Linked DNA regions of Homo sapiens: all the other regions are linked to region 2. The links are contacts of gene promoters, found by promoter capture Hi-C in human tissues and cell types (Jung and others, 2019). All regions are on one chromosome and are shown on one strand. The core of a region is centred on a gene start or on the middle of the fragment in contact, and the rest is flanking DNA. Distances in the headings are between cores, read along the strand shown.

Region 1 (3,379 bases), core at 719-3,218, 190 kb after region 2:
AAGTCTTTAATTAAAAAAAAATTTTTTTTTTTAAATAATAGAGATGGGTTCCTGCTATGTTGCCCAGGCTGGTCTCGAACTCCTGGGCTTAAGTGATTCTCCCTCCTCGGCCTCCCAAAGTGTTGGGATTGTAGGTGTGAGCCACTGTGCCTGGCCTAAAAGTCTTTAATTTTTTTTTTTTTTTTTTCTGAGACAGAGTCTTGCTGTGTTGCCCAGGTGGAATGCAGTGGCATGATCTTGCCTCACTGCAACCTCTGCCTCCTGGGTTCCAGCAATTCTCATGCTTCAGCCCCCTGAGTAGCTAGGATTACAGGCGAGTGCCACCATGCCTGGCTAATTTTTGTATTTTCAATAGAGACGAGGTTTCACCATGTTGGCCAGGCTGATCTTGAACTCCTGTCCTCAAGGGATCCACCTGCCTCAGCCTCCCAAAGTGTTGGGATTACAGGTGTGAGCCACCGCTCCTGGCCCTAAAAGTCTTTAATGTTGATGAAACCTTTTTTTTTTCTTTTTCATTTTATTCTTGTGTCTAAGAAATCATTGACTAATTCAAGATTATGAAGATTGATGTCTCTGTTTTCTTCTAAGAGTTTATGGCTTTAGCTGTTACATTTAGATCATTGATCCATTTTAAGGTAATTGCTGGATATCATGTGAGGTAGTGATTCAGACTCATTCTTCTGCATGTAAATATCCAATTGTTCCAGCACCATTAGCTGAAAAGACTATTTTTTTCTCCATTTTAATGTCTTGGCACCCTTATTGAAAATCAGTTGACTATAGATGTATGGGTTTATTTATTTTATACTCTCAGTTCTCTTCCAGTGATCTATATGTCTCTCCTTATAGCAGTACCATGCTGTCTTGACTACTACAGTTTTTTAGTAAGTTTTGAAATTGAGAAGTGTGAGTCTTATTCTTCAACATTGTTTTGGTTATTCTGGATTCCTTGTATTTCCATATGGATTCTAGGATCAGCTTGTTAGTGTCTGCAAAGAAGCCAACTCAGTGGCATTCTGATAGGGATCTCATTGAATTTTTAGTTAAACTTTGGCAGTGTTGCCATCTTAGCAATGTTAAGTCGTCTGATCTATGAACATGAGATGTCTTTCCATTTATTTAGGTTGTCTTCAATTACTTTCAACAACGTTTTTCCGTTTAAGGAGTATAAATTTGCACTTTTGTTAAATTTATTTCTAAGTATTTTATTATTTATTTATTTTTTGATGCTATAGTAAAAGGAACTAGTTTCTTACTTTTATTTTTGGATTGTTCATTCCAAGAGTATAGAGGTACAGTTTTTACCTTGTGTCCTGCAACCTTGGTGAACTAGTTTATTGGTTCTAATAGTTTAGTGGACACCTTAGGATTTTCTATTTATAAGATTGTGTTAGCCATGGATAGAGATAATTTTACTTCTTTCTTTCCAATCCAGATATCTTTTGTTTCAATTTCCTGCTTAATTGCCTTGGCCAGAACCTTCACTATGGTTCAATAGAACTTGCAAGAGCAGACATCCTTGTCTTATTCCTGATCCTAGGGTGAAAGCTTTAGTCTTCTACCACTGAGTATGGGGTTAGCTATGGGTTTTTCATAGATGTATTTTATCAAATTGAAGAATTTCACTTCTCCTCCTAGTTTGGGTGTTTTTTTAAATCATGAAAGAGTGCTGGATTTTGTCAGATGCTTTTTTCTGCATCTATTAAGATGACCATTTTTTTTGTTCTGTTCATATGGTGTATTACATTAATTAACTTTTGAATGTTAAGCCAACCTTGTATTCCTGGGATAAATCTTGTTTGTCATGGTATATAATCCTTTTTCTTTGTTGCTGGATTCAGTTTGCTTGTATTTTATTAAGGATTTGTATCTATATCCATAAGAAATCTTTGTAGTGTTCTTTTTTGGTGATACCTCTGTCTAGTCTCCCCAAAATATTCTTGATTGAGTTCTGTCACCAACTAAAGAGCTTTTTTTTTTTTTTTTTTTTTGGAGATGGAGTCTCGCTCTGTTCCCAGGCTGGAGTACAGTGACGCGAACTCTGCTCACTGCCAGCTCTGCCTCCTGGGTTCACGCCATTTCTCCTGCCTCAGCCTCCCAAGTAGCTGGGACTACAGGCACCTGCCACCACGCCCAGCTAACTTTTTTTTTTTTTTGTACTTTTAGTAGAGACGGGGTTTCATCGTGTTAGCCAGGACGGTCTCGATCTCCTGACCTCATGATCCATCCGCCTTGGCCTCCCAAAGTACTGGGATTACAGGCTTGAGCCACCGCGCTTGCCTAAAGATCTTATCTATTTGATTAGTGGTATCCATATTTACAATCTCTTAAGTAAATCTGTTTTTTTTTTTTTTTTTTTAAGAGACGAGTCTACTCTGTTGCCCAGGCTGGAGTGTGGTGCTGATCTCGGCTCACTATAACCTCCGCCTCCTGGGTTCAAGTGATTCTCCTGCCTCAGCCTCCCAAGTGGCTGGGATTACAGGCACCCACTACCATACCCAGGTAATTTTTTTTTTTTTTTTTTTTTTTTTTTTTTTTTAGTAGAGATGGGGTTTTGCCATGTTGGCCAGGCTGGTCTTGAACTCCTTACCTCAGATGATCCATCTGCCTGGGCCTCCCAAAGTGCTGGGATTACAGGCATGAGCCACTGCATCTGGCCTTAAGTAAAGATTTAACAGAGGTAGGGAGTGGACTGTAGTTCTAAGTCAGCCCCTAATTTGCTATATGACCTGGGATAAGTCATTTTGCCTTTCTGAGCCCAAGTTTTTTGATTCATAAAGTAAAGGTGATGGACTGAGTTATAATCAAAGTATTTACGAGCATTAAAGCTCTTCTGTGGCATTTCCATGGAAATTCTGGTATAGACAAAGTTAGTTCCTTGTCTTTTCCCGATCCTAGGGGGAAGGCTTTAGTCTTCTACCACTGAGTATGAAGTTAGCTGTGAGTTTTTCATAGATGTTCTTTCTCAGGTTGACAAAGTTCTCTTCTATTCCTAGTTGGTTTGGGTGAGCTTTTTCTTTTTTTTTTAAATCTTTCGGCCAGACATGGTGGCTCATGCCTGTAATCCCAGCACTTTGGGAGGCCGAGGCAGGTGGATCACCTGAGGTCAGGAGTTCGAGACCAGCCTGGCCAACATGGTGAAACCCCATCTCTAGTAAAAATACAAAAACTTAGCTGGGCACGGTGGCGGGCACCTGTAATCCCAGCTACTTGGAAGCTGAGGCAGGAGAATTGCTTGAACCTGGGAGGCGGAGGTTGCAGTGAGCTGCGATCGCACCATTGCATTCCAGCCTGGGCAACAACAGCAAAACTCTGTCTCAAAAAAATAAAAAAATAAAAGGATGTTTCATGATAAAAAGTCCAGAGTGGTGATTTACTT
Region 2 (3,524 bases), core at 696-3,195:
CTTGAGGGCCAAGCACATGAGAGAGCATGGGCTCTTTTTTCTCTTACTGAGCTAGCATTTCACAAAGACCTGGGCTCAGCCAATTTGAGTAAAACCAAAGAAAGTTTCACCCCTCCTTCATCCCAAAGGCATGGTCCTTACTCCAGGTGCAGTAGGGCACATGCTGCCAGCAGAGGGGCTGGGGCAGCTTGCCAGCCCCTGGCAGGGCTGGAGGCGGGAGGGGACACCATGCCATTAGTGGTTCCTGCAGGTATAGACGATGATGGTGTAGACGGCCGGTGTGTGCACACCCTGTTAGGACAGGCCACCCCGTAGAGGGCCAGAGGTGCTCTCTCTGGCAGGTTGTGTCCTAGGGGTAAGCCAGGCAGTCACTGCTAAGTCAGTTCTGTGCTCCTAACCCCGCGTCCTCCTATATGACATCAGGGAAAGCCAGCCACACTTCCGCAACTCAGAAGTAGCACGTGTGTCTAAATGCACGCTACTGCACCACAACAAGCTGAAGCCTTTGCTCGTAACATAAGGCCTGCAAGAAGCAACTGACGTAGGAAACTTTTTTTTTTTTGAGACGGAGTTTCGCTTTTGTCGCCCAGTCTGGAGTGCAATGGCATGATCTCAGCTCACCGCAACCTCTGCCTCCCAGGTTCAAGTGATTCTCCTGCCTCAGCTTCCCGAGTAGCTAGGATTACAGGCATGCGCCACCACCCCCAGCAAATTTTTGTATTTTTAATAGAGATGGGGTTTCACCATGTTGACCAGGCCGGTCTCCAACTCCTGACCTCAGGTGATCCACCCGCCTCGGCTTCCCAAAGTGCTAGGATTCCAGGCGTGAGCCACCGCACCTGGCCGGAAATAGTTTTTAAAAGGCCTGCTATGTGGTAGCATTTGCTTGGAGGGCCCAGGCCCCACTGAAGGGGATTTCCTTAGACCCCCTACCAACAGAGTGAGGGCAGTGGAGCCAAGGCTCTTGGCATGAATAAGATGGGCATCAGTGTTTTAAACTGTGTTGGTCCCCAGAGCAGGGACCAAGCACAGGGCTCTGGCCACTTCCAGCAGGAAGGACTCGCACCCCCAGTGGCCCCATGCACCGTATCTGTTGGCTTCCTGGCTCTGGCAACGTAGCTTATAATCAGCTTCCAAGGAGTCTGCCTTGGAGGGAGGTGGTTACGCCAAAATGCTGGGCCTTTCCATCCTCCGTGTTATGTGTGTGAGGGAGGGAGTTTAGTAAGTGCTCCTGAGAGCCAGAAGGGCCCCCGGGGCCAGAGCCCTGGGCTTGATTCCTTCTCTGGGGACCGACACAGTTGAAAACATTGATGCCCGCCCTATCCTTACTGATGCCCAGAGCCTTAGCTCCACTGCCTTCGCTCTGCTGCTCTGCCAAACAGGATCCTACCTGCTTCACCACATCCGTGGCTGCCCACCTTCACTGCACTTTAGAACAGTCCAGGGAGCTTTAGAGCCACTGATGCTGGCACGTCACTTCCAGGAAACATGATTTAACCAGCCCCGGGTGGGGCCCGGGCATTGGTATTTTTTTTGTAGGCTCCCAGGTATGTTCTCATGCACATGGCCAGGGTTGAGCCCCAGTGACCCAGATGTTGGCGGCTTCCCCCACCCTTGCCTGGATCCCGGTATCCTGTAGGTGCTGAAAGGTGGCTAGAATTAGCCCACCCCCTCCTCCTGTATCCCCCCACCACAGTCCTGAGGGCACCTGCCCCTAGCTCAGGCTTTCACATTCCCAGCGAGGCTGCTCACTGACTCTGGGTTGCATGGAGAGCAGAGGAAGATGCGTGGAGAGAGCCATTCCGCCGCCCTCAGCCTCTGGCTGGCGAGTGGTTCCTCGGCAACCGCCCAGCCTGACACCAGATTGGAGTTCACATGATTCTGCCTCAGCTCGGGAATGGGCAGCCTCCAGCTGGGGATTTTCTAGCCGGAGCTGGGAGGTTCAGGCTGCGGGAAGTCGCTGGAGGGAGAGCTGGGATCGTGGCTGCAAGGGTGCCCAGGCTCCTGCAGAGCCTCTGCAGGAAGCCCAGCTGTTTGAGGTTTGAAGGCAGAGCCTAGCTGGGGCAGGCAGAGTCAGAGAGGACTCGTTTCAGAGTCCCCCCTCAGAGGACTCCCTCCATCCTGATTTCAGCAGCTGCCTGCTCCTCACCTGGTTGCAGAGACCACACTGCCTTCCTGGGGCCCTGAGGCTCTAGGAGAAGCTGGAAAGCACAGGTGGGGGTCCATCCAGCTGTTTCCAAACTGCGGGTTGTGACCCATTCATGGGTCAGTAAATCAACTTCATAGCTCATGACCTGCATTTAAAAAATTGAAATAGAATAGAAATGATCAGAGTGCGTGGCAAGAAGTAGGGTAAGTATTGCTTTGGGGAAGTTTGTTGCTTTGTACAGATGTGTGTGTGTGTGTGTGTGTGTGTGTGTGTGTGTGTGTCTGTGTTCTGGGTCGCGATGTCAGGTGTATTTCTTGCTATTGCTTGTGATCCAAAAAGCTCAAAGGCAGCAAGTTGGTGCCTAGACACGTGGGTTCTGGATTCAGATCCACCCCAACTGACTGTGTGAGTTTGAGCCTCCCTGCATTAGCCTCTCTGGGCTTCAGGTTCTGAGAAATGGCTTAGCAATGCCAGCCCACCTGACTCACAGGGACTTCGTGGGCCCAGATGGGACTGACCTTTGAAACAGTGACAAGGGTTCTAGAAGTGAGATGCTATGGTCCACGTTGTTGCTGGAGTGAGGCGATCTGGGGGGAAAATGGGGACTAAGGAAAAATGCATCCTGATGTTTCCCCTCTCCTCAGAGGGAAAAATAAAGCACTTTCAGAAAATGAAACAGCCTTGCTTAAAGCATGCAGAGGTTTGGCCAACTGAAGGAAAAGGAAGCTGGGCCCTGGGGAAACTCCCCAGCTCTTGTGGGTTTGGGGTTCCGTGAGCAGCCCTGGCACCATGAGTAACTGTCTGTGTGCGTGCCGGTGTGTGCTGCACGAAAGGGGGGGCGAGTTAGATCACTATTTATGTGCCAGCTGGAATCCAGCATTTAGGCACCTCCGCCTTCTGACTTGGGACATGCAAGAGACTCCTAGCTTAGTCAGAGAGGCCTTTCCTTCCTGTTGGGAGCTTAATTTCTCTTGGTCATTAAAGTCCTCAGAGACCTCTATGCTGATTTGCATTTGCTAAAGATTTGCTTTCAGGCGTTGAGTCACTCTATAGTTTTTCTCAATTTTTTAGCTGGGTAATAAAGTGTTATTTTGATTCTTTTCTCCAATGCCTTCCCAAACTACGGACTGGCCACGTGGCTGGTTTTCCTCAGTGGGCGTTGAAAACATGGTTGACCTGCTAAAGCATAGTCCAGGTGAAGGGGCCAGGCCAGGACCAAGCCTGGTGGCCATTGCTGCAGCATCTGTGAGGACTGGAGCTTGGCTGAGCTGGGGGCTTGAGGGTGGTGGTTCTGGGATGATCATGATAGTCAGCACAGCATGAAGGAAAGTATGGACCAGTCCGAGTTCCAGACCTGGCCTGCCGCATCTCAACT
Region 3 (3,605 bases), core at 1,092-3,591, 150 kb before region 2:
ATGGCCAGACACAGGCCTGGGGAGCAGGGATCCTGGAGAGCTTTCTCGGGGGAAATGTCTGCCTGCGGCTGGTGGGGTTGACTGGCAGGGAAGGGGTGTCCTCTGGGGAAGAGCGGCACCTGCAGAGCTTTGGAGACATAAAGCAGCCTGAAGGTTGGGGCGTCTCTTGCGGGTATGGGGGTGAGGCTCCAGGCTGTGCTTAGGTGCTTAGGGATCTCAACTACTTCTTCTTCTTCTTCTTTTTTTTTTTTTTTTTTGAGAGGGAGTCTCACTCTGTCGCCCAGGCTGGAGTGCAGTGGCGCGATCTCGGCTCACTGCAACCTCTGCCTCCTGGGTTCACATGATTCTCCTGCCTCAGCCTCCTGAGTAGCTGGGATTACAGGCACCTGCCATCATGCCTGGCACATTTTTTGTATTTTTAGTAGAGACGGGGTTTCACCGTGTTGGCCAGGCTGGTCTTGAACTCCTGACCTCAGATGATCCACCTGCCTCGGCCTCCCAAAGTGCTGGGATTACAGGCGTGAGCCACTGAGCCTGGCCTAGGAACCTGAACTTCTAAAAGAGAGAGCTTAGGAAAGAAAACTCCTGCTCCCATTTGGAGAATGCACAGGTGTTGGGAGGGGTTGGCAGGTGGCAGGGCCCTGGACTGTGGCCACGGCAGCAGAGAGAAGGACGAGCTCTAGGAGACTCTATGGGGATCCAGCCCAGATGTGGGAATCCAGGGCTGAGGGGTCCGTGGGTTCCTGGTGTGACTTGGGGTTGGGGCGTTGGTGCTGTTCTCTGGGTGGGCCTGGGGCTCTGGGTGAGGAGAAGTGGGCTTAGTGGGGAGCAAGCCAGCTTGGTGTCACTGGTGTCGGTCAGGTGGATCTGAGCGTTCCTGGCTGGGAATGCAGATGGGAGCCATGGGGAGGTTGGCTCAAGAGTCACAAGCAGGCATGGAGAATGAGAACTGCCCATGGCCAAGGAGGTGGGAGCAGGCCCCAGGGTTAGGGCTGGGCAGAGCACATGGGACTCCCCAAGATGACAGTGAGGAGTCCCCCAAGTGGGAGGACCAGAGGGAGAGTGGTCCGCAGAGAGGAGAACCCCTGAGGAGAGAGGGCACCAGCACACAGGGCTGCCCGAGGCCCAGGAGACCACTCAGCTGTGGGCGGCTCAGTGCCCACCTGGAGCAAGCACCCTAGAGGAGCAGGAACAGCCGTCTGGGCCGAGGAAAGCCATGCTCTGCAGCAGACCTGTGCGCCCCCAGGGCTGCAGGCTGCTGGCAGTAGCTTCCTGATCAGCCAGACAAGAGGGCTGCAGCTCTCAGGGCCACTAGAATCACCCTTTCCACACTTAACAAAAGGCCTGCACTCCCAGCCTGTGGTGCTCCCTGTCCTGCTGGCTCCTGCTGCTTGTATTTCTTTCAATTATTTATTTTACCTTTTTATTTATTTATTTTTGAGACAGGGTCTCACTCTGTCACCCATGCTGGAGTGCAGTGGCGCGATCATAGCTCATTGTAACCTCAAACTCCTGGGCTCAAGCAATCCTCCAGCCTCAATCTACCAAGTAGCTGGGACTACAGGTGTGCACCACCATGCCCAGCTAATTATTTTTGTATTTTTTGTAGAGATGGGGTCTCACTGTGTTGGCCAGGCTACTCAAACTCCTGGGCTCAAGCGATCCTCCTGCCTTGGCCTCCCAAGGTGTTGGGGTTACAGGCGTGAGCCACCATGCCAGCCAGTGTTGGTGTTACAAGCTCAGTGGTTCAACTGTTGGCCAGGGGTGAAGCAAACGGGCTGAGGACCTGGTGGTGTGCTGAACGCCCAAACCTCTTGGGAGGCAGATTTGGTTTCTGTAAGCTGTTAGAGTGCCAGTTGGACTTGTTTTCCTTTCTTTTCTCTCCTTTTTGTTGTCAGAAGAAATGCTGTCCAGGCATATCAGATAGCAGCGAGGAACTGTGGGACTCAGATCTGTGCCCAAATCAAAAGGCTGAGAGATGAATGGGAGGGAGCTTAACCTTTACTGAGTGCCCATGCTGGGGGCTTTAGAGCCTCGTCATTTTTCACTGTTACTTCGGTATTATAAAGAAGAAATTACTGTCTCCATTCGATAGATTAGGAAACCAAGGCTCATGGAGCAAGATCAGGAAACAGCCCCGGAAAGCTGCAAGTTTTCTTCATCATCAGCTGCTTGGAGAAGCTTCTTTCTAAAAGCCAGGCTTTCTAGAATCATGTAGGGAGGTAACTTGCTGCAGGTGGACGTGCTGTCCTGTAAAGGCTGGCAGGGCCAGTCAGGATCTGCACCCGCAGTGGGGTGGGGGTGCTGCGTGTGGTGTGCCCCCCAGCTGGGAGTGTGGGCTCCCGTGATAACCCGGCTTCACACCAGCCTGGAGCCCAGAGGAAGGGACCGGGTTGCTTCAGGCACCTCTGAAACTTCCGGGGTTGGGCGGAGGGTGGAACAGGGAGCAGCTGGCCTCAGACTTCACCCCTCACCCCAGAGCGGCAGGAAGCAGAGATTCAGGGTTAATTGCAGGTGTTGCAGAGGGCGAAAGGTGGGTTTGATGTAATTAGCAGAGTTGGAGTTCAGCCAGGGCAAGGAGATGGAGAGAATGTGTGTGTGTGAGTATGAGTGTGAGAGTGTGTGAGTGTGAGAGTGTGTGTGAGTGTGTGTGTGTACACAGTCTTTCTGTTCTCTGAGGCTTCCTTCTCTAGGACTTGAGTCAAGACCTTGATTTGCTGGGGCTTTTCTCCTGTTTCAGGAGCGGCCATCATTTCCTCAGCCTTTGCGGGAAGGAGGTTTGGCTCAGGAGTCTTGCTTTCACTCCTGGTGTTGGGGATGCCACCCAGGCCCCTGTGGCTGTCCCCTTGCCTGGGCCTGTTGGGCACAGCACCGAGCCCAGATGCTCAGAACATGCAGCCTCACAGGGTCTGCTTGGAGACCTGCCCACCTCTGGACATTGACACATCGGGACTTCCCCCAGGCCCCTCTCCCTCCCCTATTGGTGTTTGTTCCAGAATCATGTTTCTGATACAGGTTATCTTACCATGTCAAGTATTGATTTTTTCACCGTTTGCTCAAGTTTTTTTCTTTCTTTCTTTTTTTTTTGGTGACAGGGTCTTGCTCTGTGTAGCCCAGGCTGGAGTGCAGTGGTGCGATCACGGCTTACTGCAGCCTCGACCTTGACCTGCCAGGCTCAAGCAATCCTCCTGCCTCAGCCCCCCGAGTAGCTGGGACTACCAGCATGCACCACCACTTCTGGCTAATTTATGTTTCTGATTTTTTGTAGAGACAGAGTCTCCCTGTGTTGCCCAGGCTGGTCTCGAACTCCTGAAGTTGTTTCTTAATTCATGGCCATTTATTTACAGAGATGTGTGTTTATGAGCCCATCTTGGGGAGCACAAAGTAAGCAACAAAGCTTCTGGGAGTGGAAGCTGAGTGATCCCCTGATCGGAGGGCAAGGGGTCTGAATTTGTGCTTCCGGAAAAATTATGGCTGAAACGATGAATGTTAAGCTTGCAGAAGCCGCGAGTGAGCTGTGCTTGGTGTTCCCGGTGCTTGTCGGGCTCATTCTTAGTTAGCTCTCGTTCAGCTCCGATTGAAAGCTGCACTTGTGGGTGATGAGT

What was found. The method cuts DNA at HindIII sites, captures the fragments that hold promoters and counts their contacts. A contact is called where the count stands out against the background at its distance.
Region 1: a contact is called between a fragment that was not itself captured here and the fragment with the promoter of GPR68 in region 2, in 1 of the 25 tissues and cell types used here (spleen).
Region 3: a contact is called between a fragment that was not itself captured here and the fragment with the promoter of GPR68 in region 2, in 1 of the 25 tissues and cell types used here (spleen).

What each region holds. Positions count from the first base shown.
Region 1 is chr14:91,051,446-91,054,824 of GRCh38, reverse strand. The region is part of intron 1 of RPS6KA5 (ribosomal protein S6 kinase A5); the gene reads left to right. Among named protein-coding and RNA genes, the nearest start is that of RPS6KA5, 7.5 kb to the left of the region's middle. The HindIII fragment of the contact is 3,602 bases long and covers 168-3,379 here.
Region 2 is chr14:91,243,125-91,246,648 of GRCh38, reverse strand. GPR68 (G protein-coupled receptor 68) reads left to right here and starts at 1,945. Exons shown (of 2, transcript NM_001177676.2): 1 at 1,945-2,352. RefSeq lists enhancers at 2,178-2,227, 1,747-2,248, 3,308-3,417. The HindIII fragment of the contact is 47,768 bases long and covers 1-3,524 here.
Region 3 is chr14:91,396,491-91,400,095 of GRCh38, reverse strand. The region is part of intron 3 of CCDC88C (coiled-coil domain containing 88C); the gene reads left to right. All of the region lies in intron 1 of LOC105370624 (a long non-coding RNA gene), which reads left to right. Among named protein-coding and RNA genes, the nearest start is that of CCDC88C, 20 kb to the left of the region's middle. RefSeq lists enhancers at 273-332, 974-1,605, 1,699-1,768. The HindIII fragment of the contact is 3,448 bases long and covers 618-3,605 here.